2 separate regions of the Homo sapiens genome follow, and region 2 is linked to region 1. The links are contacts of gene promoters, found by promoter capture Hi-C in human tissues and cell types (Jung and others, 2019). All regions are on one chromosome and are shown on one strand. The core of a region is centred on a gene start or on the middle of the fragment in contact, and the rest is flanking DNA. Distances in the headings are between cores, read along the strand shown.

Evidence for each region. The method cuts DNA at HindIII sites, captures the fragments that hold promoters and counts their contacts. A contact is called where the count stands out against the background at its distance.
Region 2: a contact is called between the fragment with the promoter of FAM83C here and a fragment that was not itself captured in region 1, in 1 of the 25 tissues and cell types used here (aorta).

The regions. Positions count from the first base shown.
Region 1 is chr20:35,046,097-35,049,266 of GRCh38, reverse strand. The region is part of intron 6 of TRPC4AP (transient receptor potential cation channel subfamily C member 4 associated protein); the gene reads left to right. Among named protein-coding and RNA genes, the nearest start is that of TRPC4AP, 45 kb to the left of the region's middle. The HindIII fragment of the contact is 4,051 bases long and covers 1-3,170 here.
Region 2 is chr20:35,290,956-35,294,125 of GRCh38, reverse strand. FAM83C (family with sequence similarity 83 member C) reads left to right here and starts at 1,701. Exons shown (of 4, transcript NM_178468.6): 1 at 1,701-2,334. The coding sequence starts at 1,822. The HindIII fragment of the contact is 12,597 bases long and covers 1-3,170 here.

The sequences.
Region 1 (3,170 bases), core at 204-2,703:
AAAAAAAAAACAGCTATGATCGAAATGAAAACTAAATTAAAAATTTCAAGAATTCACAGATACCCAAAAATACATTCATAGATCTCTGTTAGAGACTTACTGTGTTACATTTTTGGTGTAATGCTTGTTAGGACCTGGAGCTCACCTCCCCAGTCCTAATCTGTCCTGAGCCTCCATGTTGGTTGCTGGTTGGCAGATTTCTTTCTCTTCCTGTTGAGCAGCCTCCTAGAGGTTGCTGTTGCAGGGAGGTGGATGTTCATGTGCACTGTGGTGAACCCAGCGTTCATTTCTTCTTGCTGTGCTTTCCCCAGGCCTTGCTTGTCATTGCCCAGCACAAGTGGCCTATTGTCTGTAGGAACACATTGGAGATGTGTGCAGGCCCCAGACAGACCCTTTGTGCCCTTTGATAAAAAGGCTTTGTTGTTATTCCAGTAATTGTGTGTTCCAGCCAGTGTGTGAAAGGGGACCTCCAGAGTGGAAACTCCAGACTCCTTAGCAGTCTCAGCATAGGAGTCTAGAAGTGCTCCTTCACAACTTTTCCCACTTGCCTCTCACTCCCTCTCATTCCTTTTTGTGTACCCCAAAATGGCGAGGTGTTCCACCAAACATTATGGGTATCTTGGTGCAGTTTGAAAGGGGGATAGATACCATAAAGAAAGTGGAAACACCATAAACTGGGAAAAGACATTTGAATTCAGGTAACCAACAAAGGATTTGTTGTATTCAGAATTTATCAATAATTCTTACAGGCCAGGCACGGTGGCTCATGCCTGTAATTCCAACACTTTGGGAGGCTGAGGCAGGCAGATCTCTTGAGGTCAGGAGTTTGAGAACAGCCTGGCCATCATGGCAAAACCCAGTCTCATTTTGTACTAAAAAATACAAAAATTAGCCAGGCATGGTGGTGCACACCTGTAGTCCCAGCTACTTGGGAGGCTAAGGCATGAGAATTGCTTGAACCCGGGAGGCAGAGGTTGCAGTGAGCCAAGATTATGTCACTGCACTCCAGCCTGGGCAACAGAGCAAGACTCCCTCTCAAAAAAAAAAAAAAAAACAGAATTCTTACAAATCAGCATGAAAAAGAGAAATAGCCCAGTAGACAAATGGGCAATGTTATGAACAAGCATTTCACAGACAAGAAAGAAATGGTCCATAAACATAAAAGAGAAGATGTTTAACTTGATTGGCAATCAAGGAAATGCAAATCAATACCATAGTGAGGGAGAGAGTGGGCAAATGTTGGTGAGTGTGTGTATCAGTGGAAACACTTGTATACTACTGATAAATGTTTATCAGCAGAATATCCTCTTTTTTTTTGTTTTGTAGTTGAACAGGCACATATCTTGTGCCCCAGCACCTAGGGAAGCTTTACCCTGAGGGCTGAGGCATCAGTATTTTGCCATGGGTTACCTATAACCTGTGCCTGGACACACTTGTGGGGAAGCTCAGTCCTAGAACAGTGATTCTTAGGATTGAAACCCAGAAGGTTGTAAAGTCAGTCCATCGGGTCTACCAGCCAAGTAGAAAAGATCAAACTGTATTGTGTAAGGGTATTTTTTGAATAAGTTTTTGTTTGACATTTCTATATACATTCCAATATGTATGTTTACTGGTGGTCGTTCTTGGTGATAGCTAAAAAGTTTAGAAGCCACTGCCCCAGCAAAAACTTCTCCACCTGTGCATCAAGAAACACATAAGAACATTTGTAGCTTCGTTGTTTCAGAACAAAAAACTGAAACCAAGTCTCTGATCCATGAATAGGAGAAGGGATGAATGTACTTTCTTCACACAATGGAATATTATATAGTAGAAATGAATGAACTGTTGCCATAGGCAACAACATAGCTGAGTAATTGAAATAATCGAGTGGTAGAAGCCAGTTGCAGAACACTGTAGGTAGTATATCATTTTCATAAAGCTCAAAAAAGCAAATTATTTGTTGATAAAACTAGTTTTTAAATGGCAAGGCAATAATAATTAATGATGGTGGTTCCCAGAGGCAGAGAGATGCAATAGGAAAGGCACACACAGCTAGTCATTTTGTTGTGCTGCATAATACGTATTGTACATATCAAAAATTAAAACATAAGAAGTAAATTCTTGGCCAGCCACAGTGGCTCTCATGCCTGTAATCCCAGCACTTTGTGAGGCCGAGGTGGGCAGATCACTTGAGGTCAGGAGACCAGCCTGGCCAACAGGGTGAAACCCTGTCTCTACTAAAAATATAAAAATTAGCCCAGCATGGTGGTGCATGCCTGTAGTCCCAGCTACTTGGGAGGCTGGGACAGAAAAATTGCTTGAACCCAGGAGGCAGAGGTTGCAGTGAGCAGAGATTGTGCCATTGCGCTCTGGCCTGGGCATCACAGTGAGACTCCGCCTTAAAAAAAAAAATCTTAAAATTTAAGACAAAACAAAAAACCATAAGAAGTGGGCTGGGGGTGGTGGGACCTGTTTTGGGAACCATATACTGAGTTAGACAGGGCTAGAGGAACTGGTGAGCTACAAGTTACAGTTGCCAATAATAGTAGTAGCTTACATTTGTTTTGTACTAGGGAAAAGGAAAAGTGGAAGCAGTTGTTCCCCAATGCCCCCTGCACAGCAAATTCCTGTCCTCCATTACTAGAAATAGAGGCGAGTATGGGATTCATGAGAGCTTCTAGGAATCATGCACTCGTTTTGGGCACATTCACTGATACCCTTGCTACCAGGTCCTGTGCATTGAGTCTCAGGAGAAAGGGTAGGATATATGCCTTCATCAAAGTATGGTCAGATTATTTGGGAAATAGATGCAGGAACAGATTATTAAAAGTTCATGTGATCTGTGCAGTGAAAGAGAAACACCCAATCCAGTGGAAGTAAATTAGTGGGATGAAGGATAGCAGGTGTTATCTGAGTAGCACGGGGATGGTTCAAAATGAGAAAAGTTGATGTAGTACATGCCATTTACAGATTTTAAGGAGTAATGAGTGAGAATAGAACCAAATAGCACAAGGCATTCCATAAAATTATCATTCTTAATAAAAGCTAGCAATAGAAGGAAAACTTATAAACTATATATAGGGTATTTATTAAAATTTAACTTATAGGATATTAAAATTTACAGCAAATATTGAACTTAATTTTAATGTTTTGGAATTATTTCTGGTAAAGTCAAGAAAAAGACAAGAATT
Region 2 (3,170 bases), core at 452-2,951, 240 kb before region 1:
AGGCACGGCTTTAGGTCTTCTGCGCTTCCCGCCATCCTCGCTGGACCTCATGCCTCCGTGGAAAGGTGGTGACCGCTTCTGCCTAGCCTGGCTCCCCAGCTGCAGCTGTCACCTGCTCACCCCCTTCCCCAGAGCAAAGCTGCTCACCATCCTCCGAAGGACACACGGTACATGCTCCAGGACTTTAATCTTTGTTGGGGCAGAGGTCAGAAATCTACCTGCCCTGTTTGCCTCCTGACCTTGCAGTGTGTCCGCCCATTCTCTGAAACAACCTTCCAACCATTTTCATACTCAGCCCTGGAGGAGGGGAAGAAGGCTGGGGTCTGGCCACCACCAGGCCAAGAACATCCCTGGAGTTAAGGGTGTTGCAAGCACAGCCATCTGGAACAGCATGTCTCAGGGGTGGGCCTTAGCCCACTGCCCACAGTGCACTGGGCACTTGTTTAAAAACTCAGGAATTTGAGGTTACAGTAAGCTATGATCACATCACTGCTCTCTCTAGCCTGGGTGACAGAGCAAGATCATGTCTCAATTAAAAAAGAAAAATGGCCAGGTGTGGCGGCTCACACCTGTAATCCCAGCACTTTGGGAGGCTGAGACAGGAGGATTGCTTGAGGCCAGGAGTTCAAGATCAGCCTGGGCAACATAGTGAGATCCCATCTCTAAAAAAATTTTAAAAGTAGCCGAGCATGGTAACATGCACCTGTAATCCCAGCTACTCAGGAGGCTGAGGTGGGAAGATCGCTCGAGTCCAGAGAAACTGAGGCACAGCTGTAGTGAGCTGTGATTGCGCCACTGCCCTCCAGACTGGGTGACAGAGCAAGACCCTATCTCAAAAAGAAAAAGAAAAAAGACAAGCTCCAGAAGCCTACGGACACCTTCTGGATGAGAATTTCCAGGAGGGTGGGGCCCGGGGATCTGCATTTCATCACCTCTCACCACCCCTGGGGTCAGGGTGAGAGCCACTGCTCTAGGTTCTTGAAGGACAGCTCCGAGCCGGGGTGGGAGAGAGCCAGGGGGCTGTGAGCACCACAGTTAAGATGATGGAGAGTGGCAGGACGATTATGGGAGCAAAAAGAGGGCTGGCTGGGGGACAGACCAGCGTTGATGTCCTTGGATATTCCATGTGACAGTCGTTCAGCTCTCAGGGCCTTGCAGACTTGAGCCAGGGCACGTGCTATCCACTGTGGTATGTGTTGTGGGGGTCATGGCCGGTCTCTACATCGGCGTTTGGGTGAAGAGTTTATGCAAGTGGATGTGATTACAATGTGTGGTCGGTCTGTGTCAGCCCACACTCCATGTCTGTGTATCGGTCAGTTGTCAGTGTGTCCATCTGCATGGGTGTTCATGTCTTTTCCTGGGTGTCTTGAGTCGCTCACCCACCTGCAGTGTGTGTGCGTGTGCGTGTGAGTGTGTGTTCCTGAGTCGCCTGGGCCCCTCTTGGCTGTAATTCAACCTCTGTGGGTCCCGGGAAGTCAGCATTTGGAGACTTGCTGGGAGCCTGGTGGGGATGGGGCGGCGTTGCTGGGAGGAAGAGAGGGAGGCAGGAGTGTGCACCGAGGGCCTGGCACTGCCGCTTCCCTGGGCAGGCGAGTCCCAACACAGGCAGACAGGTGGGGCTGACCTGACAGGTTCCAGAGGCCAGGGGCAATAGGGTGGAGCGTGGCTCTGATTTAGGGTGGCAACAGTTTGGGGGCCCTGCCACACACACAGCGAGCGGGCGGGCAGAAGGCGGTTCTGCTGGTCTCCTCTTCCTGCTGCAGCCAGCCCAGCGTGCGGGCCATGGGCCCTGCCGGCGGGTGAGGCAGCCGCGTGGCAGGCATGTTCGGAGGCCCGGGGCCTGGGGTCCTGGGAGCCCAGGGCATGGCGGGACCCCTGCGGGGCCGGGTGGAAGAGCTGAAGCTGCCGTGGTGGCGGGAGAGCTCACCGCTGGTGCTGCGGCACAGCGAGGCGGCTCGGCTGGCGGCCGACGCCCTCCTGGAGCGGGGTGAGGCTGCCTACCTGCGGGTCATCTCCGAGGAGCGGGAGCTGCCCTTCCTGAGCGCCCTGGATGTGGACTACATGACCAGCCATGTGCGCGGGGGCCCTGAGCTCAGCGAGGCTCAGGGGCAGGAGGCCTCCGGGCCAGACCGCCTCAGCCTGCTCTCTGAAGTCACCTCAGGGACTTACTTCCCCATGGCCTCTGACATAGACCCCCCAGACCTGGACCTGGGCTGGCCCGAGGTGCCACAGGCCACAGGCTTCAGCCCCACCCAGGCTGTGGTCCACTTCCAGAGGGACAAGGCCAAGAACATCAAGGACCTGCTGCGCTTCCTTTTCAGCCAGGCCCACACGGTAAGGGCCTCATCTCTCCATCACTCATCTCACAGAGGAGGAAACTGAGGTCCAGAGAGGGAAGGGACCAGCCCAAGGCCACACAGCGACTTAGGGGCAGAATGAGGACCAGCACCTCTGGCACTATTAGATTGCAAACTCCTAGAAGGGGGACATCCCATATTTACCTTGGCAACTGCTTGGTACCCAGGAATAGTATGGATGAGCATAGAACAGGGCATGGGTGTCAGGGACTCCACAATCCCCTGAAATGCACACGAAGTGGTGCAGGTTGGAGGGAGGAGTCCTCGCTGCATCTTTACCTTGGAAGATGCTCCACTGCCTTAAATCAGATTCTCAAAAAGTTTTATGATCCCCACACTAAGAACTCCAACCTTGGGGAACATCTGAGTCACCTCCTTCACTTATAGAAGAAGAAACTGAGGCCAGAGAGGGGCTTGGGACTTGCCCAGGGAGGTCCATATGGTGACATAGAGCTCAGGGCTTGGGGAGACAGGGGCTCTCTGACTTGGGTCCTGGGGACCAGTCCGGCCCTCCTTGCTGGCTCAGGTCCCTAGTTGCCCCCTACCCTCCTGCACCACATCTGCAGCTGGGCCTGAAGCAGGGGAAGGGGCCAGCGTGTGGGCCTCTTTGGCGTGGCCTTGAGGGCTGGGCTTTGGAACCAAGGAGGAAGGAGGAGAGGAGGCTGCTGGGCTCAGTGATGGGGAGCGGGAGCTCAGGAGAAAGAGAATTGGGAGGGCAGGTAGGGGTGGTCAGCACCCAGAAAGGCTCTGGCCACACACGAGCACAGCTTCCCTTCTGAAGCCCTGGCCTCCGACTCCAGGGGAATGGACGAG